Linked DNA regions of Homo sapiens: region 1 is linked to region 2. The links are contacts of gene promoters, found by promoter capture Hi-C in human tissues and cell types (Jung and others, 2019). All regions are on one chromosome and are shown on one strand. The core of a region is centred on a gene start or on the middle of the fragment in contact, and the rest is flanking DNA. Distances in the headings are between cores, read along the strand shown. Region 1 overlaps CTPS2 (CTP synthase 2). Region 2 holds the start of S100G (S100 calcium binding protein G).

What was found. Contacts are between HindIII fragments. The study calls those that stand out against the background at their distance.
Region 1: a fragment that was not itself captured here is called in contact with the fragment with the promoter of S100G in region 2 in 1 of the 25 tissues and cell types used here (aorta).

The regions. Positions count from the first base shown.
Region 1 is chrX:16,608,196-16,615,495 of GRCh38, forward strand. CTPS2 (CTP synthase 2) reads right to left here. Exons shown (of 19, transcript NM_175859.3): 17 at 1,346-1,490. Among named protein-coding and RNA genes, the nearest start is that of MIR548AM, 15 kb to the right of the region's middle. The HindIII fragment of the contact is 4,662 bases long and covers 3,100-7,300 here.
Region 2 is chrX:16,646,681-16,653,545 of GRCh38, forward strand. S100G (S100 calcium binding protein G) reads left to right here and starts at 3,478. Exons shown (of 3, transcript NM_004057.3): 1 at 3,478-3,523; 2 at 4,319-4,461. The coding sequence starts at 4,327. The region is part of intron 13 of CTPS2 (CTP synthase 2); the gene reads right to left. The HindIII fragment of the contact is 15,470 bases long and covers 2,657-6,865 here.

The DNA.
Region 1 (7,300 bases), core at 4,181-6,680, 37 kb before region 2:
GAGCAAGACCCTGTCCCTAAATAAATAAATAAATTAATTTAATTTAATTTAATTTTAAAATCCCTAAGGAATTTTTTATTCAAACTTGATTTTTAAAAAGCATTGTACAGGCTGGGCACAGTGGCTCATACCTATAATGCCAGCACTTTGGGAGGTCAAGGCAGGAGGATTGCTTGAGGTCAAGAATTCAAGACCAGCCTGGACAATATAGTGAGACCTTGTCTCTACAAAAATAATAAATTAAAAAAATTAGCCAGGCATGGTGGTGTGTGCCTGTAGTCCCAGCTAATTGGGAGACTGAGGCAGGAGGATTTCTTGAGCCTAGGAGTTCAAGGCTGCAGTGAGCTATGATTGTGCTACTGCACTCCAGCCTGGGTGACAGAGCCAGACCTTATCTCTAAGAAAATAATAAATAAATAACAGTTTGCCTGGAGGAATAGCAAAACACACTAAACATGTTAATAATGGTGGGAGTAGGATCGATAAGGTCCTGATTTATAATAATGCTATGAAAATGAAAAGGATGGCAAAGGTTCAGGTGTAAGAGATAAAATCATCAATGGAACAAAATAGAAATCCCTGAAACAAAGTCAAATTACTCAACTCGTTGACAATTTGGCAGGGAAGTAGGGAGCCAAATCCCAACCTCACAGGTTTCACTGAAAATAAAATCCATATAGATTATAGATTTAAACTATGAAATTGAAACCAGAAAAATGCTAGAGGAAAACACAGGGGTTATTATTTATATAATCTTTCCATAAGGAAAGATGTTAGGCATGAGAGTAAAGGCAGAAGCCACAAAAGTAAAATATTTGACTACATACATTTTTAAAAAACATAAAAAAGGACTAAACTCTTTAGGGAGAACAAAACTACCATTAACAATTTAGAAGGAAAGCAAAATCACTTTGAAAAATATTTGCAGCCTAACAAAGGATTAATGACCTTTATACATAAAGAGCTTACCAATCAGTAAGGAAAATAATACAATACCAAAATGAAGAAAAGATATGAACAAACTATTCATAAAACAAACAGCCAATAAACATATAAAAATTCATATATATTAATCAAAGAATCAACAAAAGACAATCTTTTCACTTATCAAAATGAAAAAAATTTCTAAAATAATACCCAGTGTCATCACGATTTGGAAAGCTGACACATTACTACCGTAGGTGTGATTAAATCATTTTCACAAAGAGAAGAAAATTATGTTTAAGAGAAAAAAACTGATTCTTCACATTTAAAAATTCTATAGTGGTATTAATTTTTGTAAGAAACCCTAAGATATTAATAACTATGCATCTTGGTTTATTGCTAAGAGCAGTAAGCTGGTTACCTGGAAGACAGTTTGCAACCCTGTTGCAAGTAGGCATTCAGGTTCCCAGTTGCTGCAAGTAACAGCCCCAGATACGGAGGGGAAGGCTTCATCGGCCTAGAAGAAAACTCAGGATGGAACTGGACACCAACAAAATAAGGATGATCTGAAATGAGAACAATCACGATGCGATTAAAGCAGACAAACAGGAGAACTGCTTTAAAGATCTTCTTATCTTTGAATATGAAAACTCATTAAATGGTAAGATGATTCTTTAACCTGTTATCATTACAGCCAGTTACTTTCACTATCCATCCATTCCTTCGTGGAATTTCAAATTGTAAAACACATCTTGGAAATTTTATGTGCGGAAGGTGTCAGAGTGAGCAAAGTCAAGCAAAAATTTTTGAATGGCAAGAAGAATTCCACTTTCCCCAAATCTGCCTGCTTTTTGAAGGCACTTTGTAGATTTATGTTGGTTCAATTTCCCTTGGACTTTAGGCTAACCCTGGGTCTTTCTTTCTTTAGGTGGCTTCAGGCCATTTCCTGCAAGGTCTTCTCCTTTCCCAGGGTAAGTGTCCCCTGGGATAAACCAGCACAATATCAACCCATTGGGCTACCCTTGGGAACCCAACGAGGACAATTGCTTTTCTAGTCACAGCTTTAAGTTGGGTATTACTCATAGCACCACAAAACTGAGCATTTTTTGAACAAAGTGATTCAGAGCAATGATCCATTCATTCAAATATCCTGTCCCTGGCTATGACTCAAACTAAAGATAATAAAATATAATAAGTTTAAGAGGGGGAAGTAAATATAACTTTAAAGCTTTCAATGAGGTGCTTTATCAAATGATCTAAAATCTAGTATGGAATTCAAAATCACAAATTCCCATCACTTACCAGCAAAGATCCAAAGCTACTACTACAGTAATAAGGAAATGATGATTGAATGCAAATGTCTACTTTCTTAAGGTAATCATTTAAAGCCCTGCTAGAACAGCTATTATTAAAAAAGTCAAAAAACAGCAGATGCTGGCAAGGCTGTGGAGAAAAGAAAACATACTGTTGGTGGGAATGTAAGTTATTTCAGCCACTGTGGAAAGCAGTTTGGAGATTTCTCAAAGAACTTAAACCAGAATTACCATTCAACTCAGTAATCCCATTACTGGGTATATACCCAAAGGAAAATAAATCATTCTACAAAAAAGACACATGCACTTACATGTTCATGGCAGCAGTATTCACAATAGCAAAGCCATGGAATCAACTAGATGCCTATCAATGGTGGAATGGATAAAGAAAATGTGGCACATATATACCATGGAATAGTATGCAGCCATAAAAACGAAACCATGTCCTTTGCAGCAACATGGATGCAGCTGGGGGCCATTATTCTAAACGAATTAACACGGAAACAGAAAACCAAATACTGCATGTTCTCACTTATAAATGGGAGCTAAACATTGGGTACTTATGGACATAAAGATGGGAACAATAGACACTGGGAACTACCAGAGGGAGGAAGGAAAGGGGAGTGCAAGAGTTGAAAAACTATCTGTTGGGTACTCTAGTCAGTACTTGGGTGATGGGATCCATACCCTAAACCTTAGCATCACACAATATAACCATGTAACAAATCTGCACGTGGGCCAAGCACAGTAACTCATGCCTGTAATCCCAGCACTCTGGGAGGCCAAGGTGGGCAGATTTCTTGAGCCTAGGAGCTCGAGACCAGCCGGGGCAATATGGTGAAACCCTGTCTGTACAAAAAATACAAAAATTAGCTGGGCGTGGTGGCGTGCACCTGTGGTTCCAGCTACTTGGGAGGCTGAGATGGGAGGATCGCTTCAGCCCAGGAGGTGGAGGTTGCCATGAGCCATGATAATACCACTGCACTCCAGCCTGGGTGACAGGGTGAGACCCTATCTCAAAAACAAAAACAAACAAACAAAAAAAACTGCGCATGTACTCCCTGCATCCAAAATGAAAGTTGAAATTATTAAAAAAAAAAAAAAAAAGCTCTGCTATAGAAAATGGTAGCCACTAGCCATATGTAGCTACTTAAATTCATTAACATTAATTCAGCATTTGAAACATGTTCAAAGTTACATGTGGCTAGTGGCTACCATATTGGATAGGGTGGACTAGTTCTATCATTGCAGTGAGTTCTATAGGACAGCTCTGATCCCAGAAAAATCCAGTGAGTTCTATAGGACAGCTCTGATCCCAGAAAAATCCAGTGTAGAAATCCTCTACATCTAAGAAGAAACCTCCTTGAATTAGAGGAATATGCAGGTAAGAAAGCCTGATAAGGGGAATGCCACCTTCTCCCAGGAATGTATTCCCTCAAGAAACGCAGAGAAATCATCCGCACTTAGAGAAGAAATTAAGCAATGTAGCTTAAAATTTAAGAGACAATAAATCTTACTGCATAACATCTAGGGACATCTTTGAAAAAAAAGCAGACAGTAACTGTGCTTTTGTATCACTACAGACAGATGCTGAGCAATGTAATCATGTAATAGCCAGGGACAGACTATGTGAATGAATGGATCATTGCTCTGAATCACTTTATCCAAAAAATCCTCTATGCCAATATGAGGAGAAAGTAAAAAGTTTTTATTTTGATGATGTTCTATCAGTTAGATAAAATTATCTTTAAAATAATGCTGTTGATTGCTTTAAACCAAATTCTGACATTATATAATATTAATCTCAAGCTTTGTTGTTCCTCTCAGAACCCTTCAGGAACAGTGGAGATTCGTGGATATGTTTCCAAGGGGTATCTAAGATCAAAATCTTCTGGGGAATTTTCCTTAATAACTGCTTGCAGTCCGCTTTTAAAAACTGCAAGGTTTTATAGCAGCTCTCATTTCCTTTTCAATCCACATGAAATTTGAAAGCCCCAGTGGGAATCTAAATCCTTATGATGAAAGAACCTTCTAAGTATTTGATGACAATAATGACAACCAGAAGAATTAAAAGTGAATAAGTACTTAAACAAAGTAAACAAATAGTAATTTGCTTAAGAAATTTTCTGCCTTCTCACATGCTAGGAAGATTTAAGAGGCTTCAATACCAACAGCGATCCACACTTTAATTCTAAATGATGGGCATTTCCATCAGAAAGACTCCTGGAAATGCGTACTTACTATTCTAATTCAAAACTCTAGGCATGAATTGATCATCTTAGGTAGAACGTGAAAACAAGAGAAACAATGAAATCCCACAGCAGTGGTGGCAGAAGGAGGTAACCAACTGGGTTTGCTCTTGCTGCAAAGGACTAGCTGGATGGCCCTGGGCATGTCATTTAACCTCTTTGCACTCCGGTGTCCTCTGTAAAGTGGGAATAGCATCATCTGCTTTGTTAGTTACATAAGGTATGCAAAGTCCCTAGCAAGAGGTCTAGTGACAAGCATCCAGTAAGTGCACACTGAATGTCCATTGCTTTCCTTCTTTCAGGTCTAGGTAAAATGCTACAACGTTCAAAGGAGCCTTCTTGGACTTCAATTCTCCCCTCTGCTCGGGACTCTGGAAGTACTTGAACAGATTAGAGACAAAAAGGAAAAGAGACAGAGAAAAGGCATTTGAAATGGAGAATAGTGATATGAGCTAAGACGGAGAAAGAAGAGGGAGGTTAGAAGACGCACAGGCAATCCAATTTATCTGGAGCCTAAAGCATATAGGCTGGAAATGCAGGTTCTGGAACATCACGGTACCATTTTTACAGTATCCTGCACACCCTTAGTACTCAATATATGAGAGTGGTTTATCCAACAAATTAGTGTCACACACTGCAGAGTTCTGTTCTTGTTAGGAGGTATTGGAGAAGGGATGGCTTGGAAGCAGGAAGGAGATTGAGGACAAGTGTGAGCTGGAGTTGGCATGCACTGGGACTAGTGTTCTAGGGATGGCAGTGCAATTCTAAACACCAGCTTTCTTTCCAGAGGCAGAATCTGCAGGACTTGACAACACACTGCTAGTTGGGATCTGAAGGGGAAGAAGAGCTAATATGTGAAATTTCTAGCCTGATAGTCTAGGAGAATGGTTCTCCACCAAATGTGCCCCCCAGGGACTTGCCTTTTTTTTTTTAAGATAGGGTCTTGTTCTGTCACCCAGGCTGAAGTGCAGTGGCATGATCATGGCTCACTGCAGCCTCAACTTCCCAGGCTCAACCTCCTACCTCAGCCTCCTAAGTAGCTGGGACCACAGGCACGAACCACCATGCCCAGCTAATTATTTAGTTTTTTGTAGAGACAGGATCTCACTATGTTGCCCACGCTGGTCTCGAACTTCTGGCTTCAAGTGATCTTCCGACCTTCGCCTCCCAAAGCGTTGGGATTACAGGCGTGAGCCACTGCACCTGGCTCTCCAGGGGCATTTGATGATGTCTGGAGATATTTTGGGTTGTCACAACGTGGGAGGTAGGGATGATAGTGGCAGTGAGTAGAGGCTAGGAATGCTGCCAAACACTCTACAACAGGGGTGTCCAATCTTTTGGCTTCCCTGGGCCACACTGGAAGAAGATGAATTGTCTTGGACCATACATAAAATACACTAACACTAATGATAGCTGATGAGCTTAAAAAAAAATTGCAAAAAAATCTCATAATGTTTTAAGAAAGTTTACGAAATTGTGTTGGGCCACATTCAAATCCACCCTGGGCTGCATGCAGCCCACGGACTGTGGGTTGGACAAGCTTGCTATACAGTGCACAGGACAGCCTCCACGACAAAGAATTATTCCACTCCAAATGTCAATCAATAGTGGCAAGGCTGAGAAACCCTGGACAAGGATATTGATGATATCTTAACAGAAACAGGAGAATGAACTAATTGGGAGACCATGTAAATTTAGTTTTAAATAAGTTGAGATGGAAGTGGCAACACAACATCCAAATACACAAACAGGTCAAGGAGGCACGTGAAAATGTTAAATTCAAGTTAGTTAAATGAAGTGTATATGTGTGAGTCTAGCCCAGGAGTTAGCAAATGTTTCTGTAAAGGGCCAATATTCTATAAAAGGTAAATATTTCAGGCTTTGTGAGCCATAAGGTCTCTTTCTTAACTACTCATCTCTGCCATGGTAGCATAAAAAACAGCCATGGGCCAGGTGCAGTTGCTCATGCCTGTAATCTCAGCACTTTGGGAGGCTAAGGAGGGAAGAGGCCTTGAGCCCAGGTGAGACCAGCCTGAGCAACATGGCAAAACCCTGCCGCTACAAAAAAAATTTAAAAATTGGCTGCGCATGGTGGCTCATGCCTGTAATCCCAGCACTTTGGGAGGCTGAGGAAGGAAGAGGCCTTGAGCCCAGGTGAGACCAGCCTGAGCAACATGGCAAAAACCTGCCGCTACAAAAAAAATTTTAAAATTGGCTGCGCGTCGTGGCTCATGCCTGTAATCCCAGCACTTTGGGAGGCCAAGGCAGGCGGATCACGAGGTCAGGAGTTCAAGACCAGCCTGGCCAACATAGTGAAACCCCATCTCTACTAAAAAATACAAAAATTAGCCGGGCATGGTGGAACATGCCTGTAGTCCCAGCTACTCGGGAGGGTGAGGCAGGAGAATTGCTTGAACCTGAGAGGTGGTGGTTACAGTGAGCCAAGATCGCGCCACTGCACTCCAGCTTGGGCAACAGAGTAAGACTTCATCTCAAGAAAAAAAAAAAGTAGCCAGGCAGGGTGATGCACACCTGCAGTCCCAGCTCCTTGGGAGGCTGAGGTGGGAGGATTACTTGTGCCCAAGAGGTCAAGGCTGCAGTAAGCCATGATCATGGCACTGCACTCCAGCCTGGGTGACAGAGCTAGACCCTGTCTCAAAAAAAATAAAAATTAAAAGCAGCCATAGACAAGACATAAATGAATGAGTGTTGCTGTTGTCGGAGCTCAGAAAATACTACCCTAAAGTAGTTTGAACTGAAGGTGACTGGGAAGACCTCCAAAGCAAGAAGGTCACTGTGATGTTTCCCCCGCCT
Region 2 (6,865 bases), core at 2,228-4,727:
GGATAGCATTTCACACCCATTTTGTTTTGCAGGGACCAGGTACTAACACTGTACCCTCTTCCTGAAGGTGCTTTTCAAGACATTGCATGCTGTCACCTTCAAGCAGAATAACCCACAGAAGCCTGTGGTGCCCAGAGCTCTTAAAATATGTTACTCTTGGCTTTCCTAGGAAAAATTAAGCCTGTCCAAAGATCAAACAATTGAACAGTGAGGTGATAAATAACCTTTGCCTCTCCATTTTCCCATTACCACCCTTGTGCCTGTCGTTTCCCCCCTTCTCTGGTTTCAAAACGCACTCTTGTGAACACACCCTGTAATTATCACTTGTCTCCATATATTTTTAGTTAATGTTTCACAAGAGTATCTATTAGTGGATTTTTCATGCTTCCAAGTGCAAGTTTACCCTCATGCTTTTAAGTCTATGGGTAAAGAGAAAAATAAGAGACAAGAGATGTGACTGGTAGAAGTGAGCAAGTAAAAACTTAAGAAGCCGCACAGGCTGTTTTTCAAGTTCAAGTTTTGCTAGCATTCGCTACAAGTATAAATTCTGACAATAGGCAGCATTGGGCCCATTCTTTTTTTTTTTTTTTTTTTTTTTTTTTTTGAGACAAAGTTTCGCTCTTATTGCCCAGGCTGGAGTGTAATGGCAGGATCTCAGCTCAACGCAACTTCCACCTCCCGGGTTCAAGCAATTCTCCTGCCTCAGTTTCCCGAGTAGCTGGAATTACAAACATGCACCACCACGCCTGGCTAATTTTTGTATTTTTAGTAGAGATGAGGTTTCTCCATGTTGGTCAGGCTGGTCTCGAACTCCTGACCTCAGGTGATCCGCCCACCTCGGCCTCCCAAAGTGCTGGGATTATAGGCGTGAACCACCGTGCCCGGCCGCATTGGGCTGATTCTAATCAGAAGTTGTCCCTTGAAAGAAGAGATTTGTAGCCTAGAAGACTATTAACCAATACTGCTCCAAAAGTTTTTCTTAGAGATAATTTTTATATATACATACACACGTCATATGTAATATATGGGTGTATTATATAGAACATGTTATCTTTCATCCTATATCGTTACTAAGATGACATATAGTTATTAAAATCATTTCTTCAGATGCAAAAAATAGGCCAGGTGCAGTGGCTCACGCCTGTAATCCCAGCAGTTTGGGAGACTGAGGCGGGCAGATCATTTGAGCCCAGGAGTTGGAGACCATCCTGGGCAACATGGCAAAACCCATGTTGTATTTTTCTACAAGAAATACACAAAATATATATATATGTATCCGGGCATGGTGGCACATGCCTGTAGTCCCAGCTACTCGGGAGGCTGAGGTAGGAGGATCACCTGAGCCCATGGAGGTTGAGGCTGCAGTGAGCTGTGTTCACGCCACTGCACTCCAACCTGAGTGACACAGTGAAGTGGCTTCAAAAAAATAAACAAAAAAACCAGATGCAAAACATAATAAACACCCCATTTGATTTTAGCTCACTAGTGGTAATTTGAGAGAAAAGATGATTTAAGATGCTATTCAACAATTGGAGAGATTTGACGTGGGCTATGATAATGGCATTGTGGTTACATAGGAGAATGTCTTTGTCCTTAGGAGACAGATGCTGAGGTGCTCAGGGGGGAAGCATCTGGATGTTTGTAATTGATTCTCAAATGACTCAGGGGTGGAGGAAAGTATCTGTCCAGAGAAAGAGAAAGCAAATGTGGAGATGTTCGCAATTAGTGAATCTAGTCGAAAGGCAGACTGGTGTTCATTGCACTATTCTTGCCACTTTTCTGTAGATCTGAAATATTTTTTAAAAGATGTTTAAAAAAAGATAGTTCTTGTTATGATTAAGCACAAACGCCTACTTCCTCCCAGGAAAACAGAACATATGTGTAAAAACACTGGCAATTTTCTAAAATCTTGATTAAAATGCATTGCCAAAATCAGAATATTTTTGTGTAAAATCTTATAACTAAAAATAAAATGCCTGTCTTTACTCCAACCAGTGAGTTAATACATATTCTATATTGGTGCATAGCAAAGTCAAAGAATCCATAATAAAAACAAGAAGAATATATACAAGACAGCAAAGACACATGGAATGATAAATGCTCAAGACTGGCGGGAAGCTTTTAAGGAATTCTATTAGATTTCCCATTTGTTCTCCAATGTAAATAAGGCCCTAGAATTTTAGAGCTGAGAAACATCAGGGAGAAATACAGTCCCAATAGTCCAGTCCTCAGTTTGTAGGTGATATAAGGCAGAGTCAGGGAAAATTCTATAAGTGTGGAAGTGTACAAGTGTTTCAAAGCTGTAAAGTGCTCTTAAAATCCACCTGGAACCCCTTCCTGTGAGTTACAATCAGCATTAGATCAATGTCCCTTGGAAATGTCCTACTTATTTCATGGAACTCTTTCCAGTAGAAATCAATCTCCTTGGCAATTTTAAATCATGGCAGTTACAAAAAGTTTGAAGTATTTCCAACTGAACAAGAGTAAGTCGAGTGTTCTCACAAGTTTTTCGAATGATCACGAAATATATTTGGTAAGGAAAAGGATAATGAGAAATAAAAAGCAGACACAGGACCAACAAATAATGAAAGAGCTGAAAAAATGACCATGTTACTCAATATTGATTTGCCAAATAAAACCACAAATTACTGAGTATCTTCTTTCCACTTCTTAAACCTGCTTCTGAAGCAATACTTCCATTCATTCATTCATGTATTCAAATATTTAAGCTGCTAATATGTAAAGACATCAGAAGGACTTCAATGGCCATACCGTAATTTTTTAAACTATGTAATATTGTCCTTCTATGACAGCATTTTTTCTTTTTTACAGACAGGATCTCACTCTGTCACCCAGGCTGGAGTGCAGTGGCACAATCATGGCTCACTGTTGCCTCAACCTCCCAGGCTTAAGGAATCCTCCCACCTCAGCCTCTACAGTAGCTGGGACTACAGGCATGTACCATCACACCTGGCTGATTTTTTAAATTTTTCAGTAGAAATGTCTTGCTGTGTTGACCAGGCTGGTATCAAACTCCTCACCTCAAGCAATCCTCCTGCCTCGGCCTCCCAAAGTGCTGGGATTACAGGCATGAGCTACCGCACAGGGCAGCATTTATTTTTTCTGGATATGAAGAAAGTTATTTTTTAAAGCCTAAATATGCAACTAAATTGAAAAGAATCCTCTATATCTAAGCTTTATGAAATGTGAACTGTGAGCAAATATAATTCTACATTGGAGGGAAAATATAATCTCAGGGGGAAAAAAATCCAAGCTTACGACTCTGAACCATGAAGCAACTGTCGAGATGGACCTTTACTGGATCTTGCCCTTAATTATGGGGTTCATGCAGTCTTAAGCCTGAGTTTCAAAAACCATTAATAATTACCCTTAAATGGCCAACAAAAGGAAATTTTCATAATCAGGGTGGCGTGCCCGTAAAGACTATAAAAGTGTCATGATTCTGCTCAGCTCTTCAAACTCCTCTTTGATTCTTCTAGCTGTTTCACTATTGGGCAACCAGGTTAGTGTGATTTTGGTACTACCTAGAGCTCCTTCTGTTTGCATTAATACTCTGCTTCCTTTTAGAATGGTGTGAAAGATAATGGTCTGGAGAGAAGGTGAGTTTATGCCATCTGGAGATATTCCCTGTAACTTAGAAGCTAGAAGCTGTGGTCAAGTATTCTTCAAGACCACAGCCTGCAGAGTGCAGATCAGGTACATAAAAAGTGTAGAATGTCATTAATTACTAATAAAAATGTTTGGCTCCAGGGACCATCTCCTAACAGATGTACTCTAAGAACAGACATTTAACATACTATCTAAGATGTCTTTTTTTTTTTTTTTTTTTTTTTGCAGCGGAGGCTCGCTCTGTCACCCAGGCTGGAGTGCAGTGGCATCGCACTCACTGCAACCTCCGCCTCCCGGGTTCAAGCGATTCTCCTGCCTCGGTCTTCCAAGTAGATGGGACTATAGGCACGCACCACCACGCCTGGCTAATTTTTGTATAGAGACAGGGTCTCACCATGTTGGCCAGGCTTCCATGGTCTCGAACTCCTGACTTCAAGTGATCCACCCTCCTTGGCCTCCCAAAGTGCTGGGATTACAGGCATGAGCTACCGTGCCTGGCCTAAGATGCTTATTTTTTAAACATGTTAGTAGTTACTGGTGCCATTCCGACCCCGACATTCTCTTTTCCTTATTCTTCCCCATTTATGCCAAGGAAATGGCCCAATGGCACTAAAATCCTGCAGACAACCCTCAGCACAAAACTGTACTTCAGCTTTTTGGTAAGTTTATTTTCTTCCCAATTTATAAGACACCAGAATGAGTACTAAAAAGTCTCCTGAGGAACTGAAGAGGATTTTTGAAAAATATGCAGCCAAAGAAGGTGATCCAGACCAGTTGTCAAAGGATGAACTGAAGCTATTGATTCAGGCTGAATTCCCCAGTTTACTCAAAGTAAGTGGCCATCCGCAGAGCCCACTTAATGGGACTGATGGTGGGAGGGGAGGGAGGGAGGGGAGAGGACTCCGGTAGAGCCTTATAGGGACCGTCGCTTGAGGGAGGACACATGCAGGTGGGGTTTCTTCCCCTTAAGTCAGGCCACATTTCAGAAGGCAAGCTCTCAGAAAACAAGGGCCAAGCCTTCTATCCCTCCTGCAGCCTCAGCACAGGACTCTGCAGGACTAGCCATAATAAATGGAAGCAATGCCAAGTTATGCCTGGAAGACCCACAAGTCACCAAGCAAACCCAATAAGGCCTTCAGCATGGATTCAGTACTTCTGTGCCAGGCTTTAGGAAAACAAAGAGGACTGCAAAATAGTGTTAGCTGGCCTTGGACAGGCTTCATTTGTGTATGTAAAATCCCTCAACAAGACCAACACTTACTTAGCAGTCTGTTAGGAAAACCCACTGACAAATTGCCTTGTCAGCACTCATTTATATTTCAAAAGCATTTACATTTGTGTTCATCACTTAAATTTGTGTTAATGAGGCAACCGTGCATTTCTAAACAACTTTCAAGAAAGGACTAAATTTCCTGGGCCATAAAGTTTCACATCAAAATCACCCCAGAGTTGTCAAAATCAAAATGCATTCAAGGCAACAGAGTACAGAGAAGAGCTGATCGTCCTCACTCCAATATACAGTACTGTCTTTCCTTTTGCTAAAGAAAAAGCTGAGTCAGGACACTTGCCAAGGATGGTAAGGCAACTTACTCCAGGAGGGCCATGGCGACCCATACAGGGACCACTGAAACGTGTTCTTGCCATGGGGAGAGAGATTGGGCTCAACTCCAGAAAGGATAAGTGGGGGTTTATGACCATAGAGCAGGATGGGGGGGGCCAGTGGATGGAAAATTACCAAGGAAATATCCAGGATAAGGAGCTTCTGGCTAAATTGCCTTGATAGGATTCTAGCTGAAGGCAGGCCAGGTGATCAAATATTAAGGGTAGTCAGATACAAGGACAGAGAGGGAAGCCCAAGGTCAGGCCTAGTCGAGCAGAGGACTCAAAGGAGAGAGTCATTGTCATTTTGCAATTAAAAACCATCTTCACAACAGAAGTGACTATGGAATTGTTTTGTATGACTCAGTCACTATTTAGCTCTAACTTCAGGAAAGAACATTTCTTCAAATATTTTAACCAGCTCTCCAGATTTTAACCAGAAATGTCCCTTCTGCCAATATGACAATTGGAAAGACTTCTGTTTTTAATACTAAAAAAGAAAAAAGCTGAATTCAATGACCCCAGAATCTGATATTTTCTCATTTTCTCATAGTTGAAATATAGAAGAACTTGTAAAAACACTTAAAGTCACTAGCAGAAAAAGGGACTTTTTAATTAAACAGCAAAACAAGTTAGTGAAAAAATTTAAAATTTTAAAAGACCCTTTATTTTTTCTAAAAGGAAGAAAAATAATCATCTAACAGGAAAGCCTAGGCCATGTACTCAAACAAGTTGTTTCAAAAGGTAACACGGGTAACTTTTTCTATATTTTATGTCTTTCCTACAAAAAGTACGTAAGACATAATCTGGAACGAGGTAGGAAGACTAATGGTAAGTTCTGAAAGTCTACTTAACATGTACCTGATTATATTCCCATAAGGTTTCCATTACTAAGGTTTTCCACCATACTCTGTTTACATATATCATCACCATGCATGGTTTAGAATCTAGTAAAGGCTTCAGGAAAACAGTGTTTCATATTCATAAATCAAAGGCTGAATAAGTAACTTACAGTTTGGTCTTGTAATTAAAGCAAAGTGCTAAGTGTTTTTGTAGGAATCTTAGGGGTTAAAATATATCTTCCATAGAGATGTGCTGCACAAAATTGTGAATCTACTTAGCACTACTGAACTGTATGCTTAAAAATGATTAAGAGCGTAAATTCAATGTTATGTGTTTTTTACCACAATTTATATATACATATATATATATAATATAGTCTAATTTGAAACTGACAAACTGAACTGTTATTTCAATCGGTTTTCTAAGTAGTATTTTGCACAGATAGACTCCTACCTGAAAGTCCAAGTAGTAATGGCTTTAAGATTAGAGTTTTATGGTAGAGACAAAAATTAACTCCACTTAAGACACTGCAGGAAGTCCAGTAGTCAAAAAGCCTGCACACGATCTCACACGACATCTCAAGCAGTGGTTCTCCAAGTGTGGTCCCAGAGCAGCAGCATTGGCACCACCTGGGAAGCTGTTGAAAATATAGATTCTCCAGCTTGAACAACACAGCAAGACCTTGTCTCTATTAAAACTTTTAAAAAATTAGCCAGGTGTGGTGGCACACGCCTTTAGTCCCAGCTACTCGGGAGGCTGAGGCAGGAGGATCATTTGAGCCCAGGAGGTGGAA